Linked DNA regions of Homo sapiens: all the other regions are linked to region 1. The links are contacts of gene promoters, found by promoter capture Hi-C in human tissues and cell types (Jung and others, 2019). All regions are on one chromosome and are shown on one strand. The core of a region is centred on a gene start or on the middle of the fragment in contact, and the rest is flanking DNA. Distances in the headings are between cores, read along the strand shown.

What was found. Contacts are between HindIII fragments. The study calls those that stand out against the background at their distance.
Region 2: a contact is called between a fragment that was not itself captured here and the fragment with the promoter of SIX2 in region 1, in 1 of the 25 tissues and cell types used here (liver).
Region 3: a fragment that was not itself captured here is called in contact with the fragment with the promoter of SIX2 in region 1 in 1 of the 25 tissues and cell types used here (mesendoderm cells).

The regions. Positions count from the first base shown.
Region 1 is chr2:45,008,169-45,011,351 of GRCh38, forward strand. SIX2 (SIX homeobox 2) reads right to left here and starts at 1,284. Exons shown (of 2, transcript NM_016932.5): 1 at 383-1,284. The coding sequence starts at 942. RefSeq lists enhancers at 1-752, 1,757-2,356. The HindIII fragment of the contact is 8,583 bases long and covers 1-3,183 here.
Region 2 is chr2:45,333,949-45,337,126 of GRCh38, forward strand. No RefSeq gene overlaps it. Among named protein-coding and RNA genes, the nearest start is that of LINC01121, 81 kb to the left of the region's middle. The HindIII fragment of the contact is 3,880 bases long and covers 1-3,178 here.
Region 3 is chr2:45,435,889-45,438,910 of GRCh38, forward strand. The region is part of intron 16 of SRBD1 (S1 RNA binding domain 1); the gene reads right to left. Among named protein-coding and RNA genes, the nearest start is that of SRBD1, 170 kb to the right of the region's middle. The HindIII fragment of the contact is 4,079 bases long and covers 1-3,022 here.

The sequences.
Region 1 (3,183 bases), core at 34-2,533:
AATCTGCAAATCCCCTTTCATCTGGGCTCAAACCCCTCTGTCCTGAGGATGACCAGACCTACTGTGCCTGCCTCACAGGGGATACAGGCCCACAGTTCTGCGCTGCCCCGAAGCTCTCTGCTTCTCCACCCTTTTCCTCTAGCGACCGAGTAGTTAGTTGACAACTTCCTGAATTGCTCTGCCCGCTTTAGACAAATCCCTGCTCGCCGGGTCTCCGGCATAGAAAGGCCTAAGCATCGTCCAAGTCAGGCCGGGCTGCCGCTGGGCTGTGGCCGGGCCTGGGGGCCCAGTTTAGGCCTCTCCGGGGGACCGGCAGAAGCCCTGCGAACCCCTCCCTTGGGCCCCGGGGAGCTGGCGCCGAAGAAGGTCTACTTACTCGTACCTTTCCTTGGCCTCGGCCGCCCGGTCGCGCTGCCGCCGGTTCTTGAACCAGTTGCTGACCTGTGTGGTGGTGAGGCCCGTGGCCTCCGCCAGCTCACGCTTCTCGCGGGGTGAAGGGTAGGGGTTGTGCGCGTACCACTCGCGCAGCACGCTGCGACTCTTTTCCTTGAAGCAGTAGCTGGTCTCCTCGCCGTCCCAGATGGAGCGCGGCAGCGGGAATTTGCGGCGCACGCGGTATTTGCCCACGGCGCCCAGGGGTCGGCCGCGCAGCTTCTCCGCCTCGATGTAGTGTGCCTTGAGCCACAGCTGCTGCAGCTTGGCGTGGTTGTGCGGCGAGAACTGGTGGCTCTCCAGGATCTTGTAGAGCTCGCGGAAGTTGCCGCGGTGGAAGGCCACCACGGCCTTGGCCTTGAGCACGCTTTCATTCTTGTGAAGGTGCTCGCAGGCGGGCAGCGACCACAGGAAGCGGCCCAGCCGCTCGATGTTGCCGCCCTGCTGCAGCACCTCGCACACGCACGCCACTTGCTCCTGCGTGAAGCCGAAGGTGGGCAGCATGGACATGGTGCCGGCTGCGTCCCCGCCCGCCCGCGCGCGCCCTCACCGGGCCGCGCGGTCCCGCATGGGAGCTTCCTCGCCGGGCCGTCCGGGCCGAGACGCGGGCGGGGCTGGCCCCCTGGCCCGGCACTGGCCCCCGGTGAGCCCCGAGTCACTGCCGTACGTCCCCGCGCCGGCCGCGGGTCCCACGAAGCTCCGAACCCCAACGGCCCGCGCGCCTGGCCCAAGCCCTCGCCCAAGCCCGGGGGCCGCCCGGGGCGCCGCTCCGCATGCTCCGCGCCCGCCCGCCGTTCCCTCGCTCGCTTCTCACTCGTTCTCCCTCCCGTCTAGCTGGCTCTCAGCTTTCTTAATAATATTATTCTAAGCGGGCATGAGGCGCGGCGGCCCGCGCCCTGATTGGTCCGGTTATCTGACCCGGGGCCTGCCAGCGCCAGACAATAGTCGGAGTCAAATTATTCGCCATGGAGACGCTGTCAGTCACTGGTAACCCGAGCCTCGGCGGGCCGGGCGGCTCCCCCCGGCCGGCTCCGCTGACAGATCGCCCCGCTCCGCGCAGAACTGAGGGCGGCTCTACTGGAGCCTGGGGCGCTCTGAGAGCCTGGGAGGCGGAGAGGGGCCGGGTTGGGGCCGGCGGCGGCGGAGATTGACGGGGCGGATGCCCAAAGAGGGAGGGAGGAGGAGGACAGGAGAGCGGGGGGAGCGGGCGAAGACGAAAAGGGGTGGATCGAGGTGGGGAGAGAAGAGGAGAGAAGGGAAGGCGGAGACCGTTTAAGGGGGTGTCCAGGAGGAAGGGGAGGGAGAGGGGTGGAAGGAGACTCCAGGGGAAGAAAGTTTGGGCAGCTTTGGCTAGGAGAGGGCTCTGCAGCCTCGCCCAGACCCTACAGGGTTCCCCTTCTCCCCAGGTCACCGCGTCCCTCCCAGGCTCTCTGTTCACCGGGCACATTCTACCCCGGCGCAGGCCAGTGGGATGGGAGAGTTTGGACGTGCTCGGGTGCCGCCCAAAGACTTGGCTTTTTCTGCTGACAGCGCCCCACCCCCATCCTAGAAACTCTGGACTCAGCGGTCCTCGAGGGAAAAGGGGAGGGAGTAGACGAAAGAAATGGGGAAGATTTGGCAGTGGCCGCAGGCGGACGCCGGAGAATCGACTTCCCGGAGGATCCCGCCTTTCCTCCCTCTCCTAGCCCCGCCGGCTGCCTGGCGGCCTGTACCGCCCCAACTCTGCGCTCTCTGCTCCTCGCCGGGCGGGGACTCAGACTTAACCCCACGGGTCCCACAGCCCGAGGAGCGCCAGGCAGTTCCGTGTGGCCTCTATGGAAGCTGACTCCGGCCGGCAGCTGCGACGCAGAACCCCGGACGGCGCAGACCCGCAGTCTGCCCACCGGGGCGGGGGAGAGGGGCGACGGCAGGGACTCTAGGACGGTGGTGGGGCTTCCCCGGTGGGTGGTCGGGGAGGAGAACGGAGGCAAGATTCCCAGTCCTCCCGCTTCGCCGCTGGGGATCGGCTCGGCTCCTGGCCACTCCAGCCTGGGAACCGGCTCGCTGAGCTCCGGGATGAGGTGCTTTAAAAGGGGGTCCTGTTTTTTGCTTCTTTGTCAGGGTGCCAATGGAAACATGTGGTGCTGGTCCTGTGGGAGAAGGGCTCGCACAAAGGTGGGAGAACTGAGGATGGGTGTGTTCTTGCTCTACGTTTTGAAAAGCCCGGGGCTTAGCTCCTTCCCGGACATGTCCTTTCCACTTCCTTCAGTTTCCTCCTCTTCCCCCCTCAGCTGCTGCAGGCCAGGAGCTCCTAGGGCCATACTCAGTGCCTGACCCAAGCCAGCACAAATCCTGGGCTCTGCCCTCAGCCAGTCTAGGGCTATGGAACCCGAGTCTAGGCCAGTTCCTTCTTTCCCACCCTTTTATGCTTTCTATGGAGTTTGTGCTAGGAGCGCGGAATGGGAGTCTAGAGCCCTGGGTTCAACTTTTGGTTTTGCTTGGTGTCTATGGTAAGGCATATATTTATGCCTTTGTGTTTATTTCCTTCTCTGCAAGATTTCAAAAATTTTCCCTGTGCTGCAGCATTCCGGAAGTCCTTTGGGAGTGTTGTAGGCATGAGAGAATGGAACCCTGGGACTCCTCTTAAGACTTTAGCTTCCAGGGGCCTACCCTGGCATGTTGAATGAGGCCACAGGGCTGACAAAGTAGGTCCCAAGCCAGTGCGGGTGCAGAAAGGGGAAGCTTTCTGCAGAAATCCAGGTGGCATCTTTA
Region 2 (3,178 bases), core at 204-2,703, 330 kb after region 1:
TGGGTGTTACAGGCACTCACACCTCAATTAACCTAGGGGGCGTGGGGCTGCTGGTTTCTCTGCACAGATGTCAGGGTGAGAGACCCTCATGGCCAGAAGACTTAGATACCCTGAGACTCCTTCTGAAACTAAGGACCCGGGATCCCCACCCAGCCCTGGCCTAGGATCCTTTTCAGAGCTTCGGAGCCTCATGTCCAGGGTAGTCCGTGGACACGGGGCCACCTCTGGTGCACCCTGGGCTGCCTAGGCCGCCAAGCCCACCCTGGAGTGGCAGGAGCTCAGCCTGTGGCCAGCTCTGCACCCACAGCCACGACCTGGTGCCGAATTTTACTATCTGCCATTTACCATTCTGACGGGGAAAACAAATTTAAAACACCTGGAAATTTATGTCTCTGATGGGTCAGGTTGCACTGTTCCATTATATTAAATAATCCAGGCTGTGCGCTTCAAAGGCCGCCGGCCTCGGGAGGCCGCCAGGGCGCGGGGCCTTTGTTAGCGGTGGGGATGCGGGCAGCCCATGGCCCACCTGCGCCTGGGAGCGCCCCAGGGTGCTTGGGCCTGAAGGCCGGCGTTGGGGGAGAGGGTGGCCTTCAGAATCAGCCCCAGGCACTGGCATGTGCTCTTTCGGAGGCCTGCTTTCCCTTTCCCTGGACTGGGTATGACTCTCATCTGCACTGGCCTGGGTTCAGAAGGTGGAGGTTTCCTTTCTCACCCGGTCACTCACAGGCTCAGTGACGTGGGGCCCCAGTCTCCTCCTCTGTGTAACAGGACCTTAGTGGCAGGCAGCTCTGTTCGCGTGGCTGACGCCCCTCCCCAGCCCCATTCTGTGCCCCAGACTTACCAGGGGGGCTCAATTGGCTCTGTTCAAACTCTCAGAAGCTCTGAAGGTCAAGGTGAGCATGAAGGGTTGAGAAGATTGGAATTTGGAGGAATGATCAAACTGCTTAGACTTGGGTGGCTAGCGGGGTCAGTAGCAGAAGCTGGGAGAACGCTCAGGAGGCTCTTGCTAAGCAAAGCTCTCAAGGCCAGGCTGGCCAAGAGCAGCACTGGTTTTGGGCAAGAAGGAGTTCCGTACCCTGGGACCATCCGGCGAGTGACCCTCACCCAGCACTGACACTGCAGGGGATGTGGGAGGGCCAAGGGGCAGGGGTGAGGACTTGTGTCCCAGAAGCTGGGCAGGAAGGATAGGTGAGTTGTGCCTGGAGTCTGAAACCAACAGACTGGTTTAAGAACTCATATGAGGTCTTGGAAACTTCTAGAAAATGCTAGAGGATGGGATGGGAGTGGGCTCTGAGATGTTATCACCCTATGGTGAGGCCTGTGAAGCTTCTCAACGTTTGTGCTACATCTATAAGATGGAGATGAAGCTTCCTGCTCCCTCTGCCTCACAGCACTGCTGCAAGGACCAGAGCACACGTCTTCTGGAAGCACCTTGTAAACCTAAGATTCTGTAAATGAAGTCTTATTTTTGCAGTTGGGAAAAGGAAACCTGGAGGAGGCTGGGAACATGGCAAAGCCACAGCAGAAAGAGAAGACAGAGCTGGGTGTTCTCACTCCCAGCTCTGTGATGTCCAGCCCCCCATCCTGCCGGTCATCAGGGCTCCCGCCCCCTCCCCCATGTCGCCTCTAATCCTCTAAGTGTATCATGGATCCTTCCCCAGGTCACTGGTGACACCCTGCTCAGCCACAGCACCAGAGAGGAGAGAAAACACCACAACAGTCTTCATAGAACTAAAAGACTTCCTAGAGCGCGCTTGCCCTTTGTTTCTATAGCTGCTGCTACGTGGATAAGAGTCACTAGTTCAGCTCATATTCAGGACCAACAGAACACTTCCAAAGGTGGCTCACCTCAGAGACTGGGACTCCAGAGGTCAGCGTGCCTCTGTCTAGCTGTGCTTTCTAGTGAACACGTTACTTCACCTCCCCTGGGCTCAGTCTTGTCACTTTGGCAATGAGGGCATTTGGCGGCATTCTCTGAAGCCACCCTACCCCCTTCAATGGTCTGGAACCTTAGCAGCACATTTGAATCATCTGAGGAGCTTTTTTAAAATACCACGGCCTGGGCTCTGCCCCGAGAGGTTCTGATCTAATTGGTCTGGGATAGAACCTCAGGTGGTTCTCATGTGCGGGCAAGCTGGAGGACCCCTACACTAGTTGTTATGAGGATTTTATTCAGCAAACATCAAACCCCACATGGAGTGGTCCAGGGGCCAGAACCTAGACATTCAAGAGGGAGTTCCTGTGAGTTTAACTTCCTCTCCTGGAATAAAAATTTTAAGAACTCAAAAAGCACAAAAGTTGATTTTTGGGGGGGGTCTCTTTTCAAATTATGACCCTAAAGTTAGGCCGCCATCAGTCATATATAGGTCAGAAGGGGGCCCAGTCCTGACTTGGATGTTAGATGAGTTTATTGGCCACAGAGAGACTAAATCTTAAAGGACCCCCTTGGCAGAAGGAATCAGCAGCCAGCGTGGCCACTCGACTGCCTGACCCAGACCCCCAAGGTGAAGAGGCCCTTTGAGCCTCCATGCAGCAGCCCTGCCAGGAGGCACCACTGTGATGTATCACTGTGGTCAACCATCCCTCCAAGCCTCAGGGCAGCCTTTGAACTGGGTTGCCCTGCCCACAGTGTGAAGCCAGTGCTCTGAACAGGCATGTCGGAGAATACTGCCAGAAAGTCACTCCTCGGGACCAAGTAGGGAAGGGCCTTAACGAGCAGCAAAAAGTTATCCTTCAATGTGTTTAAAAGAAATCCTGTGTTAACCCTTTTAAGGATACTAAATGGCAGATGTTGGTGCTTGAAGAGGCCTGGCCCAAACCCTCCCCACAAGCAGAATAGGTTCTCTCATCCCCATGTTACCTCTACAGTAAAAACCCAGAGGAAGAGCTGATCATGTGCTGCCCACCTGGTCTACTCCAGTGAAACAGGATCATTTCTAATTAGCCAGACTCTAAACAAATGGGTACAATTGACATGCTGGGAACATTTTTGTTTAAGTGATAATGAAAATATTTTCCCTTTATTACGTGCTTGACTCGGATGTGTGGCACAGGATGGCACTTCATAACCGCTTGAGAAAGTGAGGCAGGTATTCATGTCACTATTTTACAGATTAGGCACCCAGCATAAGTTAATGCCAGGGCAAGACCGTTTGTAAGCCAGGTCTCCTGGCTTATC
Region 3 (3,022 bases), core at 144-2,643, 430 kb after region 1:
GGAATACTTCCTAAATAATTCTATGAAACCAGCATAACCTTAATTCCAAAACCAGACAAAGACATTACAAGAAAATGACAGATCAGTATTTCTCATGAACACAGATGCAAAAATTCTCAAAAAAGCTAGGAAATCAAGTCTAACAATCTATAAGAAGAATTATACACCATAGCCAAATATAATATATCTCAGGTATGCAAGTCTGGTTCAACATTCAAAAAATCAATTAATGGAATCTATCACATCAACAAGCTAAAAAAGAAAAAAAAAATCACATAGTCCTAGCTGCAGAAAAAGCACTTGACAAAATCTAACTAACACTCATTCATGATAAAAATTCTCAATAAACTAAGAACAAACGGGAAACATCCTCAAGGTGATTAAAAACATCTACAAAAACCCTACAGCTAACATAACATTTAATGGTAAGAAACCAGAATATTTCCCACTAAGATCAGAAACAAGACAAGGATGTCCCTTCTTACCACCACTCAACATCATACTGGAAGTACCACCTAATGCAGTAAGAAAAGAAAAGTTATATAAGATTGTGAGGTGTATTAGTCCATTTTCACACCGCTATAAAGAACTTCCTATGACTGGGTAATTTATGAAGGAAAGAGGTTTAACTGACTCACAGTTCCACATGGCTGGGGAGGCCTCAGGAAACTTACAATCATGATAGAAGGGGAAGCAGGCATGACTTACATGGTGGCAGGTGAGAGAGAGTGTGTGTCTAAGTGCAGGAAAAACTACCATTTATAAAACCATCAGATCTTGTTAGAATTTACTCACTATGAGGAGAACAGCATAGGGGAAACCACCCCCATGATCCAATCACCTCTCACCAGGTCTCTCCCTCAAGACCTGATGATTACAATTCATGATGAGATTTGGGTGGGGACACAAGGCCTAACCTTATCATGAGGAAAGAAAGAAAACTCTTTGTTCACAGATAATATGATCGTCTATGTAGAAAATTCAAAAGAATTGATTAAAAAACTCCTGGAACTAATACGTGATCACAGCAAGGTTGTAGGACACAAGGTTAATATACAAAAGTAAACTGTTTTCCTATATGCCAGCAATAAATAAGTGGTATTTAAAATTAAAAACACAGTACATTTACATTAGCACCCTCCAAAAGCTTAAAGTATAAATCTAATAAGATATGTATAAGATCTATAAGAAGAAAACTACAATACTCTATTGATAGAAATCAAAGAACTAAGAGGAGAGATATTTCATGTATGTGGGTAGGATGACTCAATACTGTCAAGATGTCAGTTCTTCCCATCTATAGATTCAACACAATCCCAATTAAAATTCTAAAGTTTATATAGAGAGCTAATTAGACCCAGAACAGCCAACACAGTATTAAAAGAGAATGAAGTCAAAGAACTGACACTATCTAACTTTTAAGACATACTACACTAAGCATAGTAATCAAGACACTGCAGTATTGGTTTAAAAAAAAAAAAAAAAAGACAAATAGATCAATGGAATAGAAAGCACCAAAAGACCCATATACATAGAGTCAACTGATCTTTGACAAAAGAGCAAAGGCAATACAATGGAGAAAAGGTATCTTTGCAACAGGTGGTGCTGGAACAACTGGACATCAACTTGCAAAATAATGAATGTAGACACAGATCTTACACCCTTAACAAAAGTAAATCAAAATGAATCATAAGACAGACATGGTGGTACATGTTGATATTCCCAGCTACTCAGGAGCCTGAGATGGGAAGATCACCTGAGCTCAGGAGGCGGAGGTTGCAGTGAACCAAGATCGTGCCACTGCACTACAATCTGGGCGATAGACTAAGACTCTGTCTCAAAAACAAAGACAAAAAATGAAACAAACTCACATCAAAATGAATCATAGACCTAAATGTAAAACATGAAACCATAAAACTAGGCAATAACATAGGAGAAAATCTAACTAAACTTGGATATGGCAATGACTTTTTTAGATACAACAATAAAGGCACAATTCATAATAGAAATAATTGATATGGATTTTGTTAAAATTTAGTGTCTTTATGATACTATAAATAGTGAATATAGGTTATTATCTGTTTGTCTAAACCCATAATGTGTAACATTATACCATAATGTAAACTATTAACTTTGACTGATAATGATATGCATTCATCAATTGTAACAAATGTGCCATTCTGGTGCAGAATGTTGAGACTGGAGGGGGCTGTGCATATGTGGCAGGAAGATTTATATGGTAACTCTCTGTAGTTTTTGCTCTGTTGCGAACCTAAAACTGCTTTAAAAATAAGTCTTGAAAAAAATCCCTATATGATTCATTCTGATCTGATAGTCTGATCTGAGAGTTAATTATCTGATTACCAGAAGAAAATTCAATACTCTTTAAAGGAAGACAACAAAATTTGTATTTTCAACAACACAGAGCATCCACAATATCCACCATGTAATAAAACTAGCTAGACATACAAAAATGCAGGCACATGTGACCAATAACAGAATAATGGGTCAACTTATCCAGCAGAAACCAAACTAGGATGACCCAGATGTTGGAAACAGCAGACAAGAACTTTAAAGTGGCTCCAGGACTTAAAGGCAAATATGGTCCCAAATCAATGAATAGATGGTAAACAGCAGTAAAGGAATTAAAGCTTTAATAAACAAAGAATAAAGAAATACAGCATCTGAAATAAAATTATTGAATGGGCTTAACAGCAGATTGGAGTAGAAAAATAAATAAATCAGTGAACACGAAGAGAGATATGCAGAAATTATCCTATCTGAAGACCAGAAATAAAAAAAGAAGGAGAGGCGAGGATGGGGGGTATAAAAGAACCTTAATGAACTGTGGGACAAGATCACAATGCACAACTATATGTAACTGGAGTCCTGAGAGGGAAAGAGAGAATAGGGCAGATAAATATTTGAAGTAGTAACAAAACTTTCCCCAATTTTTTCAAAAACATAACATAATGTAAAGATGCAAGAAGCTCAGTGAACCCTAAGAAGGACAAAAACAAAG